Regions from separate parts of the Homo sapiens genome. Here all the other regions are linked to region 2. Evidence: promoter capture Hi-C in 16 types of primary human blood cells and fetal thymus (Javierre and others, 2016). All regions are on one chromosome and are shown on one strand. Each heading gives the region's core, a stretch centred on a gene start or on the middle of the fragment in contact. The rest is flanking DNA. Distances are from core to core; before and after follow the strand shown. Region 1 has its middle 93 kb from the start of DCD. Region 2 holds the start of NEUROD4 (neuronal differentiation 4). Region 3 has its middle 96 kb from the start of MUCL1. Region 4 has its middle 22 kb from the start of DCD. Region 5 has its middle 45 kb from the start of DCD. Region 6 has its middle 68 kb from the start of DCD.

The links. The method cuts DNA at HindIII sites, captures the fragments that hold promoters and counts their contacts. A CHiCAGO score of 5 or more calls a contact.
Region 1: a fragment that was not itself captured here is called in contact with the fragment with the promoter of NEUROD4 in region 2 in 2 of 17 cell types (activated CD4 T cells and naive CD4 T cells); the score reaches 5.4 in activated CD4 T cells.
Region 3: a fragment that was not itself captured here is called in contact with the fragment with the promoter of NEUROD4 in region 2 in 7 of 17 cell types (naive CD4 T cells, total CD4 T cells, activated CD4 T cells and 4 more); the score reaches 7.1 in naive CD4 T cells.
Region 4: a fragment that was not itself captured here is called in contact with the fragment with the promoter of NEUROD4 in region 2 in 6 of 17 cell types (total CD8 T cells, M1 macrophages, total CD4 T cells and 3 more); the score reaches 6.5 in total CD8 T cells.
Region 5: a contact is called between a fragment that was not itself captured here and the fragment with the promoter of NEUROD4 in region 2, in 6 of 17 cell types (activated CD4 T cells, naive CD4 T cells, non-activated CD4 T cells and 3 more). The highest score is 9.1, in activated CD4 T cells.
Region 6: a fragment that was not itself captured here is called in contact with the fragment with the promoter of NEUROD4 in region 2 in 7 of 17 cell types (naive CD4 T cells, naive CD8 T cells, non-activated CD4 T cells and 4 more); the score reaches 8.3 in naive CD4 T cells.

Annotation. Positions count from the first base shown.
Region 1 is chr12:54,739,101-54,742,924 of GRCh38, reverse strand. No RefSeq gene overlaps it. Among named protein-coding and RNA genes, the nearest start is that of DCD, 93 kb to the right of the region's middle. The HindIII fragment of the contact is 7,865 bases long and covers 1-3,824 here.
Region 2 is chr12:55,017,912-55,021,771 of GRCh38, reverse strand. NEUROD4 (neuronal differentiation 4) reads right to left here and starts at 1,798. Exons shown (of 2, transcript NM_021191.3): 1 at 1,459-1,798. The HindIII fragment of the contact is 8,784 bases long and covers 1-2,553 here.
Region 3 is chr12:54,757,008-54,760,923 of GRCh38, reverse strand. No RefSeq gene overlaps it. Among named protein-coding and RNA genes, the nearest start is that of MUCL1, 96 kb to the left of the region's middle. The HindIII fragment of the contact is 338 bases long and covers 1,637-1,974 here.
Region 4 is chr12:54,668,254-54,671,710 of GRCh38, reverse strand. No RefSeq gene overlaps it. Among named protein-coding and RNA genes, the nearest start is that of DCD, 22 kb to the right of the region's middle. The HindIII fragment of the contact is 2,913 bases long and covers 410-3,322 here.
Region 5 is chr12:54,691,174-54,694,689 of GRCh38, reverse strand. No RefSeq gene overlaps it. Among named protein-coding and RNA genes, the nearest start is that of DCD, 45 kb to the right of the region's middle. The HindIII fragment of the contact is 9,388 bases long and covers 1-3,516 here.
Region 6 is chr12:54,714,622-54,718,074 of GRCh38, reverse strand. No RefSeq gene overlaps it. Among named protein-coding and RNA genes, the nearest start is that of DCD, 68 kb to the right of the region's middle. The HindIII fragment of the contact is 3,088 bases long and covers 627-3,453 here.

The DNA of each region.
Region 1 (3,824 bases), core at 1,161-3,660, 280 kb after region 2:
ATGCAAGGAAATAAAAAGAAAAAAATACAAGAAGTGAAGGGAGAAATATTCAAGGAAATAAATAGCATAAATAAAAAAACAATTAAAACTGCAGGAAACGCTGGACACATAGAATTGCAAAATGCTCTGGAAAGTCTCAGCAATAGATTGAACAAGTAGAAGAAAGAAATTCAGAGCTGAAGGCAAAGTCTTTGAATTAACTCAATCCAACAAAGACAAAGAAAAAAGAATAAGAAAACATAAACAAAGCCTCCAAGAAGTCTGGAATTATGTTAAATGACTGAACCTAAGAATAATTGGCATCGCTGAGGAAGAAGAGAAATCTAAAGTTTGGAAAACATACTTGGAGTAATAATCAAGGAAAACTTCCCCAGCCTTGCCAGAGGCCTAGACATCCAAATACAAGAAGTACAAAGAACACCTAGGACATTCATCACAAAAAGATCTTCACCTAGGCACATTGTCGTCAGGTTATCCAAAGTTAAGACAAAGGAAAGAATCTTAAGGGCTGTGAGACAAAAGCACCAGGTAACCTATAAAGGAAAACCTATCAGATCAACAGCAGATTCCTCAGCAGAAACCCTACATGCTAGAAGGGATTGGGGCCCTGTTTTCAGCCTCTTCAAACAAAACAATTATCAGCCAAGAATTTTTTATCCAGTAAAACTAAACATTATATGTAAAGGAAGATACAGTCTTTTCCAGAAAAACAAATGCTGAGCGAATTCGCCACTACCAAGCCACCACTACAAGAACTGCTAAAAGGAGCTCTAAATCTTGAGACAAATCCTGGAAATACACCAAAACAGAGCATCTTTAAAGTATACATCTCACAGGACCTATAAAACAAAAACACAAGTTAAAAAGCAAAAAAAAAAAACCAAGGTACACAGTCAAGAAATAGCAAGATGAATGGAATGGTACCTCACATCTCAATACTAACATTGAATGTAAATGGCCTAAATGCCCCACTTAAAAGATACAGAACTGCAGAATGAATAAGAATTCACCAACCAACTATCTGCTGCCTTGAAGAGACTCATCTAACACACAAGGATTCATATAAACTTAAAGGGGTGGAAAAGGGCATTTCATGTGAATGGACACCAAAAGCAAGCAGGAGTAGCTATTATTATGTCAGACAAAACAAACTTTAAAGCAAGAGCAGTTAAAAAAAACAAAGGGGACATTATGTAATGGTAAAAGGTCTTGTCCAACAGGAAAATATCACAATCCTAAACATATAAGCACCTAACATTGCAGCTCATAAATTTATAAAACAATTACTAATAGACCTAAGAAATGAAAAAGACAGCAACACAATAATAGTGGGGGACTTCATCAATACTCCACTGACAGCACTGGACAGGTCATCAAGACAGAAAGTCAACAAAGAAATAATGGATTTAAACTATACCTTGAAACAAATAAACTTAATAGATATATACAGAACATTCCATCCAACAACTGCAGAATACACATTCTATTCAACAGTGCATGTAACTTTCTCCAAGATAGACCATAAGATAGGCCACGAAATGAGCCTCAATAAATTTAAGAAAATTTAAATTATATCGAGCACTTTCTTAGACCACAGTGAAATAAAACTGGAAATCACCTCCCAAAGGAACCTTTGAAACTATGCAAATACATGGAAACTAAATAACCTGCTCCTGAATGATCATCAGGTCAAAAACAAAATCAAGATGTAAATTTAAAAATTATTCGAACTGAATGACAATAGTGACATAACCTATCAATCCTCTGCAATACAACAAAGACAGTGCTAAGAAGAAAGTACATAGCCCTAAATACCTACATTAAAAAGACTGAAAAAGTGCAAAATGACACTCTGAGGTTATACCTCAAGGAACAAGAGAAACAAGAACAAACCAAACCCAAACCCAGCAGAAGAAAGGAAATAACCAAGATAAGAGCAAAACTAAATGAAATTGAAACCAAAAAAATACAAAAGATAAATAAAACAAAAAGCTGGTTCTTTGAAAAGACAAATAAAATTGATAGACCAATAGCAAGATTAATAAAGAAAAGAAGAGAGAAATCCAAATAGCATCAATAAGAAACAAAACAGCAGATGTTACAACTGACACCACAGAAATACAAAAGGTTATTTAAGGCTACTATGAACACCTTTATGCACATAAACTAGAAAACCTAGAAGATATGGATAAATTTCTGAAAAAATACAACCCTCCTAGCTTAAATCAGGAAGAATTAGATACCCTGGACAGACCAAGAATAAGCAGCAAGATTGAAATGGTAATTTAAAATCACCAACAGAGAAAAGTCCAGGACCAGACAGATTCATAACAGAATTCTACCAGATATTCAAAGACCAATTGGTACCAATTCTTTTGACACTATTCCACAAGTTAGAAAAAGAGGGAACCTGCCTTAATTCATTCTATGAAGCTAGCATCAACCTAATACCAAAACCAGGAAATGACATAACCAAAAAAGAAAACTACAGACCGATATCCTTGATGAACATAAATGTTAAAATCCTTAACAAAATATTAGCTAATAGAATCCAACAACATATCAAAAAGATAATCCGCCATGATCAAGTGGCTTCATACCAGGGATGCAGGGATGATTTAACATATGCAAGTCAATAAATGTGATATACCACATAAGTAGAATTAAAAACAAAAATCACATGATCATCTCAATAGATGCAGAAAAGGCATTTGACAAAATCCAGCATCCCTTTTAATTAAAACTCTGAGCAAAATCAGCATACAAGGGGCATACCTCAATGTAATAAAAGCCATCTATGACAAACCCACAGCCAACATAATAGTGAATGGGAAAAGTTGAAAGCATTCCCTCTGAGAACTGGAACAAGACAAGGATGCCCACTCTCACTATTCCTCTTCACCATAGTACTGTAAGTCCTAGCCAGAGCAATCAGACAACAGAAAGAAATAAAGGGCATCCAATTAGTAAAGAGGAATTCAAACTGTCACTGTTCGCTGATGATATGATTGTTTACCTCGAAAACCCTAAAGACTCCTCCAGAAGGCTCCAAGAACTGATACAATAATTCAGCAAAATTTCTGGATACAAGATTAATGTACACTAATCAGTAGCTCTTCTATACACCAACAACGACCAAGCAGAGAATCAAATCAAGAACTCAACCCCTTTTACAATAGCTGCAAAAAAAATTAAAACAAATACTTAGTAATATACCTAACCGAGGAGTTGAAAGACCTCTACGAGGAAAACTACAAAACACTGCCGAAAGAAATCATAGATGACACAAACAAATGGAAACACAAACCATGCTCATGGATGGGTAGAATCAGTATTGTGAAAATGACCATACTACCAAAAGCAATCTACAAATTCAATGCAATCCCCATCAAAATGCCACCATCATTCTTCACAGAATTAGAAAAAAAAATTCTAAAATTCATATGAAACCAAAAAAGAGCCCACATAGCCAAAGCAAGACTAAGCAAAAAGAACAAATCTGGAGGCATCACACTGCCTGATTGCAAATTATATTATAAGGCCATAGTCACAAAAACAGCATGGTATTGGTATAAAAATAGGCACATAGAAAAATGGAACAGAATAGAGAATTCAGAAATAAACCCAAATACAGCTAACTGATCTTCAACAAAGCAAACAAAAACATAACGTGGGGAAAGGACACCCTTTTCAACAAATGGTGATGGGAAAATTGGCTAGCCACATGTAAGAGAATGAAACTGGATCCTCATCTCTCTCCTTATACAATAATCACCTCAAGATGGATTAAGGACTTAAATCTAAGACCCAAAACTATAAAAATT
Region 2 (3,860 bases), core at 549-3,048:
ACAATATAACAGAATTTTCCTCGTTCTATAGGGTCTTTCAGTGAAATTTCAAGTTTGGCCAATTCTCTTTAATTCAAAATATTTCTCATATTTTTAAAAATTTTAAATCTGTTCTAGCAAAGTGTTTGCTTAGGCAATGATTGTTACTACTGAATATTTTTACTACTAGGGCCAAAGTCGTTAAGCATTACTACTATGTGAAGCTATCCTGGAATTCTTTCTACACTTTTACAAATTTTTTATTTATTGTGGAGATATTTCAACTAATTAATAGGTAAGGGGAACTCACATGTGGATTTGTGGTAGTTAGATGGTGTCTTTCCTCTTAAAAGCTGGTGATAATCTCTTTACCTCCTGATCCGATGACTAAATACAACAGAAAGGGGGCTGTCCAGCCCAGTTTCTAGGAAATCTAAGAACTAAATAGACTAAATTCTTTTCCCAGAGTTGCACAGTCTTGGCACTAAAAAGACAGAATCCAAATCAGGATGTTCACAAGTTGTACTGCTTGGAAAAAGCCAGTAGTTTGCTCTATGCTCTTCTTTTCTACTCTACTATTTTCCCCTTTATTAATATATGTGCACATGTATGTACATGCATGCACATACACACACATTTTGTCCAGCAAAGCCATGTAATACTTCAGGTGCCATTGCCTCAGATCTTAATAGTTAACAGAAGTTATTCAGTCCCTTATTTTTCCCTGCATGTTCTTCAGCATTTCACCTCTGCTTCCTCTGTCAAAAAAATGGGGGTGGGTATTTTACATTTAATTAGTATTTTCTGAGTATACTTTTTTTGCGGGCAAATGATGAGTGTGAAGCAGAGAAAGGAAAAATATACTTGGACAATCTTTTTCTTCTAATTTCCCATCTGAAAGAGCTGAGGAAAAGGAAATTTCCCCCACCCTGTGCCAACTATTCAAGCATTTTTAGTAAACAAAATAGTTAATGGTGAGAATCTACCCCGAGGATTTTCCACAATCTTCTCTGATTCCTCATTCTGTTTTCCTTTCCCTGCCTCCCCCTCCGTCCTTGCATAGCCCTAAAATGCTGTGAGCAGAGTGGTGGATTGGGTCAATTCTTCCAACCTACTTGCTGGGCCACCTTGGAAAAGCAGTTAAACTTTTCGACATTTTCACCACTAACAAAATGAAAGAGTGGCTTTGACAGGAATTGGGGGAGATCATCTGTATTCTTCACTTTATTAAAATGATTGTGAGTGTCTATGTGTTTCACTTTGGGTGGCAAGTGCTATAAAATTTAATAAAATTATTTAAAATGTTTATATTTGTCCCTAAGTGTTCCAACTCACTAGCTTCTACATTCCAAGTTTCCTAAATCTCACTTCCTCCTGCCTTACCCAGAAGAGACTTTCCTCACCCCAACTGCTCCTCTAGGTGAGTGGGAACTTCCCACAGAAACTTTAGCCCCCTTACCACCCCAACCACTGGCTCACCTCGGTCACTGGCCGTTCCTGGAGTGAACTCTGTGAATCTGCGTCTTAGAGGACAGTCAGAGAAGCCAAGTCTCCCTGACCATCCAGATGGTAGAAGAGACGCTTTCAGCGATCCATGTCAAACCCGGTTGTTACCTCTTAGAGATTCCACCGGGTCTGGTTTCTCTGCCTGCTCCTTATTCTACTCCTTCCTTGGAGTTCCGTATGCTCCTCAAGGACGCCTTCGGGCTGATCTCTCCGCTGCAGCCAGTTTAGTCGCTCTTCAGTACCTCCTCTCCCTGGTTAGCTCCCCGGAGAGGAGCTTTCAGGACCACAAGCCTCTGGGCAGCTCCTGCTCTCTGGCCGGAGCCTCTGACTTGCTGCAGTTTTGATTGCTCTCCCAGCTGACCAGGGAGGAGTGATGTTGCCCAGAGTCTAACTCCTCCCTTTTCCCCAGCCGAAAGACACGCCCACTTGAAAGGCTCCTCCGGCCAGGTCCAGTTTTGCCGCCCGTTTGTTTGTTTAAATAGAGATGGGGGTTGGTGGAAGGGGAGCAGGGGAGGAGAGTTGCTGAAGTTAAGGAGTAAAGAAAAAGAGGACTGGAAACCTTTGTGATTAAAAAGATAAGAAATGGGAGCGGAGTAGTGTGGACAGAATGGAGAAAGAAAATTGGGGATAGACTTGGAGAGAGAGCTAAAAAGGGCAGATGACGCTGCTGACCCACGTCTGAAAAGAATCAAAAGGTGAGAAAGATGCGTGTCAAGGACACAGCATCAGTGGCTGCTTCCTTACACATGTGGACTGGGGTCTTTGGCTTATAAACTTCAGCGTTCTAAAAGTAGAAGGAAGAAGTATGTCTCTCCCACCTTTTCAGCACGTCAAAGCTACTCTCATTAAAACTTTTAATTTGTGAATTTAGGTGAAGCTATATTTGTTGTGCTATTCTTTCAACTTTCTGATCACTTTAAATTTATAAAAACAAAAAGGAAATTAATAAAATCCTTCATTTTAAGGGCAGTTAGTTCCTTGAGTTACAAACTGAGATCTACTATTGTTTTTCAAAAATACATCATTAAGCATTCACGTAGAAAAAGTCCACCTGAGTAGTAATAAGCTTAGAAGAAGAGAAGGCTCATAATAATTCCTAAAACTCCTTTGGTATTAGGAGGTTGAATTAAATTGCTAGAAGACAGAAAGAAAACTACATCTGGAATAATTTAAGTATATAGATATTCATACTATCTTATTTAAAACTACACCAAGGAAAAATAAATGATTGTGAACTTAAGATACCAAAGATTTTCTAATCATCTTGTGTTTCCAAGAAGGAAAAAGAAAGGTGCTCAGATTAAGCAATTGGCTGAATGATCTTGAATAAGTCAACTTCACTCTGGGCATCAGTTTTCATATCTGTAAAATGAGTTTTTCCATCAGTAGCCTGATAGAGTTACGAATCCAAGTTCAACTTCTTTTAGAAATTGACTTGAAGGATAATTCCTCAGGCGTTTTGGCAAAAGGCAAAACATTTATACAATCTGAAAAGAAACCAGAGTATCCCCAGCTTTTTGAGAATCGCGTGGTCTAACAACATAACTAGCACATGCGTCAAACAGAAATGAAAAACTATTAATATGCCTGTGTGCAAGGAAAACTGTAGAGGGCTGAAACAAAAGATAGTTTCACTGCTCATAAAGTTGAAAAGAGTATCTTAAGTTTGAAAATAGTTATTTTTAATTCTGATATGTGTCATATGACTCTTGTTTTTCACAGAAAACAAGAAAATAAAAATTAACACTTTTTTCAGTTTTCATGGGAAGTTATTTATTTTCAGCAGCTCTTTAATCTCTTACTTATCTTTATTTGTATCCCTATCCAGAAAAATATCTGCTCAGGAAAATAAACTTCATTTTCAGAATAATTAAACAACACATGATGGGAATAGCAGATCTCTAAAAAACAAATCAGAATTCACTCCTCGGCCACAGGAAATTTATCTATGAGGTAATTTATGTCTAGGATAGAGGTGCTTAATCATTGTTCAATGAGCGCTTACTGAATGAATTGATCTCCTGCTTTGTGTCTTCAAAGCCCTGTCCATGGATATTTAGAAGTTGATGGCACTGATGCCTGTGAAATTTTCAGGGGCAGGGAGTAATAGCAGATTAGCAGAAAGGTGAACATATTGAGACAAAGATGAGGGTGGGGATAAAACATTCTGCAGGATTCCTTGCTTTCTCTGACAGATGTAAGGGACTGGACACAATAGGATTAGCCTTCAAAATACATTCGTGTGTGTGTGTGTATGTGAGTGCACACACACACATACACAAGCGTACATGAACGTGCACACCCCTGAAGAATGGGGAGGGAGTTGTGAATGCCAAATTTTCTTTAAGAGCTGCTTTTTGCAGAGGGATGGGTTG
Region 3 (3,916 bases), core at 556-3,055, 260 kb after region 2:
AGTATCAAAGGATGTCATCAAAATGGTATAGCAGAAACAATCTGACTTTGCTCTCCCCAGCAGAAAACCAAGAACAAATATCCAGCATCAAGATTATCACCAGGGGCCAGGTACAGTGGTTCATACCTGTAATCCCAGAATTTTTGGAGGCTGAGGTGGGCAGATTGCTTGAGTCCAGGAGTGCGAGACAAACCTGGACAATGTGGCAAAACCCTGCTTCCACAAAAACACAAAAAATTAGCCAGGTGTGGTGGTGCACACCTGTAGTCCCAGCTACTTGGGGGGATGAGGTGGGAGGATCACTTGAGCCCAGGAAGTTAAGGCTGCAGTGAGCCATATTGGAGCCACTCCACTCCACTCCACTCCCGCCTGGGTGACAAAGCAAGACCCGGTCCCCGCCTCCAAAAAAAAAAAAAATATATATATATATATAGTAACCAGCAAAATCCTAAAACTCAAATCTGAGGCTGGGGCAATCCCTACAGCCACAGAGAAGTGAGAAACTCCGAGCTTCGGGTAAGAGAAACAAACCTGTCTATCTTTGATACCGATCCTCAATCTGCCAGGCACCATTTGTGGAAAATTCCCCCAGACTCATGGTTTCTAGATCGGAAAAAGTGAGATTGAGGTAGATAGCCAGCTTCTCCACCATCGTGGATTCCCTTGTAGGAAAAGCATTCCTGCCTCAACTCATGGGAAATACCTGTAGGAAGGAAAACCCCAAGGGCAGCTGGAGATAAAGAGGGAAAGTGGGACTAGAAACCCCAGCCTGTGAAACCCTGGTCTTTAAGGCAAAGGAGATGCCAAATCAGAGTGTCTGTTCAGCAGTACGACATTGTATGAGGCACATTCTACCAGTCTTTTGAGCACAAATCCCTAGCCAGATTTCCCTCATGGGTATGGTAACTTCTTTGGGACTTCCTCTCTCTCCTCAGTCAGGGATGGGCAACACTCTGAGCAGTTGCAAGAAGCCCAAGCCAAATCTGGGCTTAAGGCACCATCTAGTGTTGAAAAGGAGGCAACAATGTAGGATAAGGAGACCAACAGGCAGCTAAATATTACCCCATAGCAAACATACCCTAGGAAGACCAAAACAAGCCAGACAGCAAAAACTGTAAATAATCCTCCAATGCAAAGCCATAGATGTATATCCATAAGAAACAACAGCAAACAGGGAACTCTGACCTCCACAAATGAGCAAAGCAATGAGCCAAAGACTGATCCTAATGAGGCAGTGATATATAAGCTCTGTTAAAGAATCCAAAGTAGCAGTTCAAAGGAAACTCAGTGAACTCCAAGATAACACAGAAAAGCAATTCAGAAATTTACTAGAGATATTTAACAAAGATATTCAAATAATTTAAAAATTTAAACAGAAATCCTGGAACTGAGAAATATGTTTGCTAAACTGAAAAATACATTATAGGCTCTCAACAGCACAATGGATCAACAGTGGGAAAACTCAGTTAGTTCAAAGACAGGCTATCGGAAAATACACAGTCAAAGGAGAAGAAAGAAAAAAGAATGGAAAGAAATGAAGAACACTTGCAAAATATAGAGAATACCTTTAAGAGAGCAAATCTAAGTGTCATTGCCATTAAAGACGAAATTGGGAAAGAGAAAGTGTTAGAAAGCTTATTTAAACAAATAATAACAGAAAAGTTTCCAAACCTAGAGAAAGGTATAATCTAGCTACAGGAAGGCTAGAGATCACCAAATGACTTCAATCCAAATAATACCACCCGAAGGCATATAAGACTTTGAGAGTTTACCCTCAAAGGTCAAGGACAAAGAAACGATCATAAAAACAGCAAGAGAAAAGAGGCAAATAACATATAAAAGGGCTCTGATTCATCTGGCAATAGACTTCTCAGGAGAAAACATAAAGGCCAAAAGGAAGTAGAATGACATATTCAATGTGCTAATGGGAAAAAAAAAAACTTTCAACCAAGAATACTGTACCCAGAAAAAGCTTTCCCTCAAACATGAAGGGGAGATAAAGTCTTTCCCAAACAAACAAAAGCTGACAGAAGGAATTCATCACCACTAGACCCATCTTACAAGAAATGCTAAAAGTACTTCAGTCTGAAAGAAAATGATGCTATCATACAAAAGCAAAACATTTGAAGATATGAAACTCACTGGTTGAGTGCAGTGGTTCACACCTGTAATACCAGCACTTGGGAGGCCAAGGGGGGAGGATCACCTGAGGTCAGGAGTTCAAGACAAGCCTGGCCAACATGGCGAAACACCATCTCTACTAAAAATACAAAAATTATCTGGGTGTGGTGGTGGGTGCCTATAATCCCAGCTACTTGGGAAGCTGAGGCAGGAGAATCACTTGAACCCAGGAGGCAGATGTTGCAGTGAGCCGAGATCATACCACTGCACTCCAGCCTGGGTGACAGAGTGAGACTCCGTCTCAAAAAAAAGAAAAAGGAAAGAAAGAAAGAAACTCACTGGTAAAAGAAAGTACACAGACAAACAGACAAATTAACAATATTCTAATATTGTCATTGTGTAATCTACTCAAAAATCTAGAATGAAGACCAAAAGAAAAATCTATAAAAAATAGCTACTGCAGCCTTTTAAGAGATAGGCAATATGAAAAGATGTAAATTGAAAAAACAAGAAGTCAGAATGGGGGGTGGAATTAAAGTATAGAGTTTTTTAGTTTTTCCTTCCTTTCTGTTCTGTGATAAAAGTTAAGTTGTCATCTGTTTAAAATAACTTATTATATTTATAAGATAATTTTGTAAGCCTCATGGCAACCGCAAAGCAAAAACCTATATTAAATACACCAAAAATAAAGCTCAGTGTATTAAAATGTATTACCAGAAAACTTTACCTAACCACAAAGGAAGACACTCAGAAAGAAAGGAAGAGAGGAGTTAAAAAAACAACCAGAAAACAAGTAACAAAATGACAGTAAGTCCTTACCTATCAATTATTATACTGAATGTTAATGGACTAAATACTCCAATTAAAATACATGAATGGGCTGGGCATAGTGGCTCACACCTGTAATTCCAGCACTTTGGGAGGGCGAGACGGGGGATCAGAAACCCTGCCTCTACTAAAAATACAAAAATTAGCCAGTGGCGGTCACCTCTAGTCCCAGCTACTCGGGAGGCTGAGGCAGGAGAATCACTTCAACCAAGGAGGCAGAGGTTGCAGTGAGCCACCACTGCACTCCAGCATGGGCAACAGAGTGAGACTCCATCGCAAAATCAATTAATTAATTAATTAATTAATTTTAAAAATAAGATACATGAATGAATCGATTTAAAAACAGGGTTCAGGCTGGGCATGGTGGCTCATGCCTATAATCCTAGCACTTTGGGAGGCCGAGGCAGGCAGATCACAAGGTCAAGAGATTGAGACCATCCTGGCCAACATAGTGAAACCTCATCTCTACTAAAAATACAAAAATTAGCCGGGCAAGGGGTCGCACGCCTGTAGTCCCAGCTACTCGGGAGGCTGAGGCAGGAGAATCACTTGAACCCGGGAGGTGGAGGTTGCCGTGAGCCGAGATTGTGCCACTGCACTCCAGCCTGGCGACAGAGCAAGACTCTGTCTCAAAATACAAAAAAAAAAAAAAAAAAAAAAAAAAACAGGGTTCAAATATATGCTGCCTAAAGAAACTCACCTTACCTATAAAGACACACATAGTCTGAAATGAAGAGATACAAAAAAAATTCCATACAAATGGACACCAAAATCTTCAAGTCAAAGATTATCAAAAGAGAAAAGAATGTCACTATGTGATAATAAAAGGGCCAATTCAGCAAGTCTATAACAATTGTAAATATATATGCACTCAACACCAGAGCACCCAAATATGTAAAGCAAACATTAATAAATATGAAGTCAGAGATAGACTTCAATACAGTAATGTTAGGGGACTTTAAACCCT
Region 4 (3,457 bases), core at 617-3,116, 350 kb after region 2:
TTTGTTAAGAATATATCCAAAGTGAGTAAGCTGCCCAAGCAGGATTGCATTAGCAGAGCTCAAATATTAGTCCTCCGTTTCACTGATTAACCTTCTCCACTGAGTTATACTATTATACTGGTCTCTAGGGGAAGAAGCTCCCTCTTCACTCATTTTGAAGGAGGGGAAATGCTTGGTTGATTGGTCAGATTCTAGACCATCATTAGGCCATGTTTTCTAGTTGAGGACCAGGGCAGAATAAATGTGCCTGTGTACATGAAAACCTCTCTATGACTCATTTTCCTTTGACACCGATGGTGTGAATTTCATCTTTCTTGAGTGGCAAGTTCCAAGATTTAATCTTAACAAATGGCACAATTTAGGACTCTAAACCACACAAAATGTATTTCCCATGCAGTCCAATTAAGCTTCCTAAAGTTCTATACTATGCTTTAGGACCAAAGATTCAGACAAAGATTTTAATCAATCCAACAAAAAAACATATTTAATGCTTCTTATGCCGGACATGTTCCAGATGCTAGGAAATCAACACTGAACAAGACAATCTTGGTCTTGTTGGAGGAAACAAGAGTGAGAAAGGTCAGAAAAATAAATTTCTTAGTACATCTTAGAATAATAAGTTCTACAATAGTCTATTAGAGGGTGCAATGAAGCTATTAGAACTAAGCCTAATCAAAACTTTCAGGATAGAAGATTCCCAGAGAAAGTGATATAAAATGAAAAATTACTCAAATATGAGTATTGGAGGAGAAAGGGAAGATAATGTTTCAGAAAGAAGGATCAGCAGGTGCAAAATCCCAGAGATAAGTGCAAACAACGTGTGCTCAAGGAACTCAAAGAAAAATGCATAGCTAGGACATAAACTAAGAGGTGAAATGTGGAAGAGATGGTAGGAAGAGGCCAGATCATGAAAGACCTCAAAAGCCTTGTTTAACTGATATTTTTTAAAGGTCCAGGAGAAATTAAAGTGCAAGGAAGAGTAGCGATAATCAACAGAGCAATATTCCTGAGAAGGCAGGAGGAGACAGGAGTCAGATCTTAGATGAAGGGTTAAGTTTTAGGCAAGAGAAAGAAAAACTCTCACATAGTTACTGTAAAAAAGAAAGAAAAGGTGGACACAAGTACATGTAAGGTTACAAATATATTGGTAGGAAATAAAGGGAATTTGTACCAAAACACTTGTATTTTCTCTGTGAAGCTGATGAAGTCACTAGGTGTGTGTGAAGGATGTAGTGGGATCCTAGTTGAGGTTACAAACCAGAAGTTTATAATGTATAATCTTTATGGTTTTATATCCTTTTTTTCCTACAAGTGCTCAATAGCCCTGGAATAGGACAGAGAGAGTAGAGAGCTAGATTTATCAAGACTCAGAATTTGCCAAACTTTGTAAAAATGAGGTCAGGAAGTGACACAGATTGGCAAAAAACTTCTCTAAGTGGAAGACCATGTAATTTAACCTGGAAAGGAAAGAACGTGAAGACTGGAGTAGGCATACAGAAAAAGAGAAAATAAAATGGTCAGGGAACTGAAGTTTGAAAAATAAATATAGAAGAAGTATCAGAATGAAAGAGTTGGAAGGATAGGTGATATGTGGTGAGGATGTGGGTGTTTTCAGAATTGGAGTAACTCTAAGAAATGACCACGGCCACAGATTGACCATGGGAGTTGGGGTGAAAGTTATGATAAGGTCAATTTCTACTTTCACCCGAACTTCCATGGTTCCCTAGAACCCAGACTTCTGGGTAAGTCATGGTCATGATCCATGAAGTTGTCCAGCAGCTTAAAACAAAAAAGAAGACCACCACTCAGGAGTAAGTCTTCCATGAAGGAAAGGAGTCGCTGGGAGCCCAGCAGGTGAAACAATGAGGAGGGGTAGACAGATGACCCAAGACTCCTCCGAGGAGGAGGTATTAGTGATATGACTCAATGGACTCTGCAGTGGAGTCTAGGATGATCCACATGTCTGTGAATTCCACTGCCCAACCTAAGAAGCATGGCTGTGGGAATGAGTGGACTGCACTTCAGAAGAGACTCAGGGAGAACCATGTTTTCCTATTGGGATTGCATAATTTAATTTAGTTAATTTCTGCTTTTACATCTATTAATGCCCTCTTCTATTTTTCACATTGTTTGATTAGACATTTTCTAGTTTCTAAACTTGAATTTACTTTTGCTACATGTTCATTTCTCATAAAATACTAAACACCAGGGATCCTCTAAGAACAGTTGGCTGCAAAGTAAAGGTGCGCAGCGTTCACATATCCATTTCCAAAACAATCATCACTTAAGGCTCTGTTTTCTTTTTTTTATTATTATTATTATACTTTAAGTTTCAGGGTACATGTGCACAATGTGCAGGTTAGTTACGTATGTATACATGTGCCATGCTGGTGTGCTGCACCCATTAACTCGTCATTTAGCATTAGGTATATCTCCTAATGCTATCCCTTTCCCCTCCCCCCACCCCACAACTGTTTTCCTTTTAACCTAAGAAAGATTGTTGTTTTTCCCCAGGGACTCTTTTTTTAATTATTATGATTTGCCTTTCATTTTTAATTTCTAACTTGTATTATATGGTGGTAAGAAAAAGTGGCCTTTACAATTTCTTCTTTGGAGAATGGATTGAGGTATTCTTTGATACCTAGTATTTAATCGATTTTGTAAAACCACACAGGTATTGAAAAAATGTTTATTCTTTTCATTGGCTATAACATTCAAGCAAGTTTGTCAATTGTGTTATTCAAATGTTCTGTATACAAAATTATATTCTGTCCACATAAACTGTCACCTTCCGAGACTTAACAGATCGATGTCTCCTACAGAGAGTGTGGCTCTGTCAGGTAGTCCTCATAGTCATCACAGTTTTTGCTTTGTTTCAATGCAAGTGTGATGCATAAAAGTTTGTAACTATTACATCTTCTCAGTGAATTTTACCTTTTTTAAACCTATGCGATTTAAAACAGCACTTCATGTTCTCTTTAATTATTTTGGCCTTGCGTTCTATTTTGCCAGATAATGTTGCTATTCCATTTACCTAACATTTCTCTCTCCATCTCTTTATATTCAACATTTGTGTGTCACTTTATTTCTGGTGTGTCTATTATAAAAGAAATCTATGACTGCAGTTCACCTTCTAACCCTGCCATTTATTTATTCTTTTCTTGTTCTTTCTTTCCTTCTGAATCTTTGCTGGATTGATCAAGTTCTTTGTTGTTGTTGCTCTTTTCTACTCTGCCACGTTAAAAGATTTATAAATCAGTTAGAATTCAGTTCAGCTGCATGGAATAGAAACTCCAAAATAAGCAGCGTAAAGACATAAGCTTCTCCCCAGCCCCTAAGTAAAAGAAGACTAGAGAAAGGCAGCCTAGGACTCCTGGTAGGAGGCCCCGCTGTCCTCAGGAATCCAGCCACCTCTTTTCTTTCTGCCCTATCATTCTCAAGGACCTAAGGACACAAC
Region 5 (3,516 bases), core at 741-3,240, 330 kb after region 2:
CAACATTTTCTTTATCCAGTCTATCATTGGTGGGCATTTAGGTGGGTTCCAAGCCTTTGCTATTGTAAATAGTGCTGCAATAAACATATGTGTGCATGTGTCTTTATAGTAGAATGATTTATAATCCTTTGGGTATATACCCAGTAATGGGTATTTCTGGTTCTAGATCCTTGAGGAATGGCCACACTGTCTTCCACAATGGTTGAACTAATTTACACTCCCACCAATGGTGTAAAAGCGTTCCTATTTCTCCACATCCTCTCCAGCACCTGTTGTTTCCTGACTTTTTAATAATTGCCGTTCTAACTGGCATGAGATAGTATCTCGTTGTGGTTTTGATTTGCATTTCTCTAATGACCAGTAATGATGAGCTTTTTTTCATGTGTTTGTGGCTGAATAAATGTCTTCTTTTGAGAAGTGTCTGTTCATATTCTTTGCCCACTCTTTGATGAGGCTGTTTGTTTTTTCTTGTAAATTTGTTTAAGTTCCTTGTAGATTCTGGATATTAGAGCTTTGTCAGATGGATAGATTTTCTCTCATTCTGTAGGTTGCCTGTTCACTGTGATGATAGTTTCTTTTGCTGTGCAGAAGCTCTTTAGTTTAATTAGATCGCATTTGTCAATTTTGGCTTTTGTTGCAATTGCTTTTGGTGTTTTAGTCATGAAGTCTTTGACCAATTCTATGTCCTGAATGGTATTGCCTAGGTTTTCTTCTAGGGTATCTTTCTCTGTTTCTTCCTTAGCTAGTCATCCTGTTTAATCTTCTTCACACTTCTTTTTCATGATGCTAATTTTCCTCAAATATTTGCTAATTCTTTGCTTTAAATGAAGTACTAAGTTGAATATCATCAACACCAGGCATTGGCTCCTTCAGCATTTGTATAGGGGGACTGTCTCTCCCTGGAGCTGGCCAACTGCAGGCTCATGATAAATGGGATGAGGAGGTTGCCAACCAATTCCCTTGTGGTGTGTGAATGGGGAGCTAGCAGGCAATCTGGGAATGAATTTGCTATAAATGACTGGCTTTAGTATGGTTCTCTGTAACAGCCCGTTGTTTTTTGTTTTTTCTGAGACTACTTTGAAAACCCAGAATTACATCAGATCCTGCCCTGTCTCTTTCTGACCTCTCATACCAGCTGAGCCCTTCACATTCACCTGGAAGCAAACACTGAAACCAGCCACTCCTGAAAACAAGTGGAGAAGAGGACCCTCGTTTTTCCTGGGAGAGTTGCTTGCTTAATCCCCTTTACATTCACCCTGTGGCTAGCTCCTCCTCCATATACTTTTTGACTCCTGACTTAAAAGTTCCCAGGTTACTCTAGGAAGAGAGCTTTCATTTCTGCAGTAGCCCTCTCCACATCTCTTCTTGGTTACTCTACTCTAAATTCTCCATTGTCTTATCCCATTTTTTTTTTAAATTAAAGAAATAACAAATGATTATTTATTCCATACTTTTTTTTTCTTCTTTGAGACAGAGTCTTGCTCTGTCGCCCAGGCTGGAGTGCAATGGCACAGTTTCGGCTCACTGCAACCTCTGTCGCCTGGGTCCAAGTGATTCTCCTGCCTCAGCCTCCCTTGTAGCTGGTATTACAGGCGTGCACCACCAAAACCATCTAATTTTTGTATTTTTTAGTAGAGACATGGTTTCACCATGTTGGCCAGGCTGGTCAACTCTTGACCTCAAGTGAGCCGCCTGCCTTGGCCTCCCAGAGTTCTGGGCTTGCAGGTGTGAGCCACCATGTCTGGCCAATAAATCTTACTGAATGGATCCAAGCTGCCTGTTATGTTTTAGATACCAAAGAGGCAGCAATGAACAAGATACAAATCCCTGTCCTTACAAAGCTCTTTTCTTACACTAAATAGCACAGAGATAGAGAAAGGTCATGACCCCTTCCTGTCCCACATTCTCCAATCCCAGTTCCTGAGGTAATATGTGAATAGTTTTGTATATAGTCTTCCACACCTCTCTCTAAGATCCTATAAACAATATCTGTGCTGTTTTGTTTTGTTTCACATAAGGAATCTCACTGTGTGCTCTTACAACTCATTTTTTTAACTTAATGATTTGGTAGAAACATTCTTCCGGTTCCACTATACAGATCCAATTCACTCTCTTAACAGCTGGACAGTATTGAGATTGTACCACAATCTACGCAAGTAACCCCTTATAGACAGACACACATGTATTTTTTTCTATGTGGTTTTAGTTTTGGTTCTCATTTTTTTAGCTGAATGTATGTATGTATTTATCTGTTTGGTTTTTGCTGCTACAAGTCTGTGATAAACATCTTTGTCCATACATCCCTATGTATGTGTGCTTCTGTATACTCTATAGTATACAGTCCCATAATTGGGAACGTTAGGACAAATGATTTATATATTTTTATTTTAATAGATATTGTCAGATTATTTTCCAGAAAGATTGTGGCAAGCCATGTTCTCACTGACAGCCCATGAATTTCCCCATATACTTGGTACTGCTCAATCTTATCAATTTTCCAATTTTTCCTCATATGATAGCTGAAAAAAATTCCTTAATTGGTGTTTTAATTTTCACTTCCCTAATGATCAGAAAGATTTCCATATTTTTATTGGCAATATGTATTTTCTTTCAATAGATTTCCTCTTTATAATTATGGCTAGTTTGGTGATTGTTATTTTTCTCTTCTTGTCATTTTATAGACATTCCCTCCATAAGAAAAATAGTAGCCCTCTGAATATCATATGTATAGCTAAAAATATATATCCTACTCTATTTTATCTTTTAACATTTATAGTATCTTTTGACATGGACAACATTTAAATTTGTAGGTTCTCATAAATGTTTATTTTCTTTTTCAGTTTCTCTTCTCCCTTGCTTAAAAAGATCTTTTTGATTTACATGGATTTACATATTCTCCTGAATGTTCATCTAAGTTTAGAGATGGAGGGGTTAAAAATTGTTTAGGCCATCTGGAATATGTTTTATACATTAGGTAAAGTAAGGAACTGTTTTCTTCTAGTTGAAAGCTGATTATTCTTACATCTTTTATTAAGTGACAAATCAGCCACTGAATTCCAATTAGACTTAAGTCATGTAGATTCTCCACTCAGTCTTACTGAGTATGTCTCTCTCTATTCTTCTGTCAAAGCCATACTATAACTTCTATTCTGACTTAAACTCTGTTCTATTCTTGTGTCAAAGCCACACTACAACTTCCATAGGACAAGGACTTTGTTTTTTATATTCTCTTTGCTATCTCTCCAGTGCCCCAAAGATGCCTCAATGCCTAGAAAAGTGCCTTCCCCATTGTAGGTGCTCAAAAAGTCAATGAACCAATGAATGAATTATAGTAGTTTAAGAATGAGTTTTAATATCTGGAGTGCCAGTGCTCTCATTGTTCTTCTTTCCAAATGTACTAGCAGTTCCCACTCATTTCCTCAACATTGAAGAAGGAATATATTTTTACATTTCTAATTCTAACTGGGGTTTTTTCTGGGTTAGAAAAAAGCTACTGGCTTTTCTTGCATTTGTCTT
Region 6 (3,453 bases), core at 921-3,420, 300 kb after region 2:
CCAACATGATGAAACCCCATCTCTATTAAAAATACAAAAATTAGCCGGGCGAGGTGGCGCACACCTGTAATCCCAGCTACTCATGAGGCGGAGGCAGGAGAATCACTTGAACTCAGGAGGCAGAGGTTGAAGTGAGCCAAGATCACACCACTGCACTCCAGCCTGGGTGACAGTGTGAGGCTCCATCTCAAAAAAAAAAAAAAAAAAAGCTGCTCTGGTTTTTTTACCTAATTATATAAATCTAAGGTAAAATGTGTATTCATTAGAATTTGATCCAAAAATACATTTTTATTTCACATAAGTACAGGCAACCTACAACTATTCTGGGGAGCTCCATTGTCAACAATCCAGCTTTCTTCTATCTTATACCACCATCTTCATCATGTGGACTCCACATTACCTCCTGGTTGACAATATCCCTTCCACTTCCAGCAAACTCATTCTGGCCAGCAGGAAAGATTTTTTGTTGTTGTTTTAAAGGATTCTCCCATTCTTCCCTCTAATGACACCTCTCAGCGGATGCACCAAGCACAGTCATTTGTACACTCTTGGCCAAAACTTAGTCTTGTGTCCATAGGACTAGCAATGACAGCTGAAAAATAATCTTTAGGTCCAGCAGCCAAGCTTCCATCTAACATTTGAGGATTCTTACTAAGGAAGAAGGGACGAATGAATATTTGGAACTCTTATTGCAGTCTCCAATACAGTCAGTCCCTTTGGTCACCCAACCACCTGTGCACAACCTTCCTCTCCATAAAGGACCTGTTCATACCCTCCTCAAAAGACACAACAGCAAAGCCCCAACCAGGCACAGCTTCCAGATCAAAGTCCAGGACCTCTGGGAGATAACTCTCAGTCAAGTCTAGATATGGATCTTTGTGATCTGGTGACCTCATCTGCCTCAAAAACACCAAAGATGCAATGGAGGAGCAAGAAGCAGATTAACTGCATGCAATTAAATCTACGATTTGGTAATGGGGAGCAGAGAAAATACACAGCAGTCACTAGTCCATTATAATTAATAAATTCCATTGTTCTTTGGTAGTAGAGTGCTTATTTTGACCATCTGACATCCTGGATTCTGGTCTTGGAGAGTAATTCCCTTGTCCACTGTCCTGTCTAATCTGTTCTCTCTTGTCCATTATCTTCCATGAACAAATTGAAATAGACATTTTATATGGTTTGACTCTGTATCCTCACCCAAATTTCATGTTGAAATGTAATCCCCAGTGCTGGAGAGGGGGGCTGGCGGGGGGTGATTTGGATCATGAGGGCAGTTTCTAATGGTTCAGCACCGGCCCCCAGTGCTGTTCTCATGATAGAGTTCTCATAAGATCTGGTCATTTAAAAGTGTGTGGCACCTCCCCTCGCCTTCTGCTCCAGCCACGTGCAGATTGTACGTTTCCTGAGACCTCCCCAGAAGCCAAGACAATGCCAGCATCATGCTTCCTGCACAGCTTACAGAACCATGAGCCAATTAAACCTCTTTTCTTTAAAAATTACCCAGTCTCAGATATTTCTTTATAGCCGTGTGAGAACTGACTAATACAACATTGGAAAGTATTACCTACTTGGGTGTTGCACAACTTCCCACTCTCTGTTTTGGAGGCCTGGGCTTTAGGGGTGGAACAGTCACAGGCTTTTACAGCCAGGCTTGTGATTCCTCTGTCAGTATAATTCCTTCAAAACCTTAGTAGAGTTATGATCTGTTTGCCTGTGGTTAGTTCCAGACATCCCACATGCAAATATTCCACAACCAAATGCATCTGCACATCGTTTTTAAATCTGAAGACTCTGGTCTGTGCTTACTGGCTTCTCTCCTCTATCCATGCCTCTTAAGCCATAAAGTTAATGGCAGCAGTCTAGAAGCCCTCAGAAAGAAAAAAAAAAAAAAACCCTTGTTTTAGCATAAAAACAAGATTCTTAATCTGATCTTTGCTGTTGCACTGAGCTCTCATTGTCTGGCAGAAAACTCTTAATAAAAGGTACTGAAAAAGGTTTAGGACCACAGTTTTATCTCCTGCTTAGGCTGTCTTTTCACAGCCACAGCATATAACTGCTTCCCTTTGAGGTATGCTCCTGATTTTCTTTACCAAACTGCAAGGCTCCAATTCCAGACCTTCAGTCAATTTAAATTAGAGGCCTCAGGCACGGAGCACCTGCAAGAGAGCTATACCTCCAACAGTCTGTATCTCTGTTAACAGACTGGTGAGCTCTAGCCTGAATTTATCTCTTTTCTAGAACTTGGATGAAAGCAGTAAGAAGCAGCCAACCAACCCCAATACTCTGCCTTTTTGCCATCCTTTTCACTGACACCACACCAGGTGGCAGACAGTTAAGTTTTCCAACTGTTGCAGTTTCTTTTATCCAAATGTGTTGCCCCTGCATAACGAGAGTCACCAGACTTTCAGCCTCCAAAATCTGAGTCTTTGCTGCCTACTAGATATTGTTATAGAACCAAACTAGGTTCCATTTGCCCAGTGCAGTTAAGTCCAGATATCCACAAAAAGGTTATTGCAGCAGTAGAAAGGGAGCCATTTATTTGCAAGACACCAAGCAAGGAGAATCAGAACAGCTCATGCTGCTTAAAACCCAAACTCCCTGATGGCACACAGGTAAGGGTTTTTAAAGGCAAGAGTTGTGTCTCTGCCAGGTTTTGGTATCAGGATGATGCTGGCCTCATAAAATGAGTTAGAGAGGAGTCCTGCTTTTTCTATTGTTTGGAATAGTTTCAGAAGGAGTGGTACCAGCTCCTCTTTGTACCTCTTGTAGAATTCGGCTGTGAATCCATCTACTCCCAGGTTGGTTTGTTTCTTTGTTTTTTGTTTGTTTGTTTTGAGACAGAGGCTCGCTGTGTCACCCAGGCTGAAGTGCAGTGGTGCAATCTCGGCTCACTGCAACTTCCACTTCCCGGGTTCAAGCGATTCTCCTGCCTTAGCCTCCTGAGTAGCTGGGATTGCAGGTGCCCACCACCACGTCCAGATAATTTTTGTATTTTTAGTAGAAACAGGGCTTCACCATGTTGGTCAGGCTGGTCGCGAACTCCTGACCTCATAATCCCCCCACCTCAACCTCCCAGAGTGCTGGGATTACAGGCATGAGCCACCGCGCCCAGCCAGTAGGCTATTAATTACTCCCTCAATTTCAGAACTTGTTATTTGTCTATTTAGGGATTCAACTTCTTCTTGGTTTAGTCTTGGGAGGGTGTTTATGTCCAAGTATTTATCCATTTCTTCTAGATTCTCTAGTTTATTTGCATAGAGGTGTTTACAGTATTCTCTGATGGTAGTTTGTATTTCTGTGGGATCAGTACTGATATCCCCTTTATCATTATTTATTGAACTAAAGAGCTTCTGCACAGCAAAAGAAACTATCATCACAGTGAACAGGCAACCTACAGGATGGGAGAAAATTTTTGCAATCTATCCATCTGACAAAGGGCTAATATCCAGA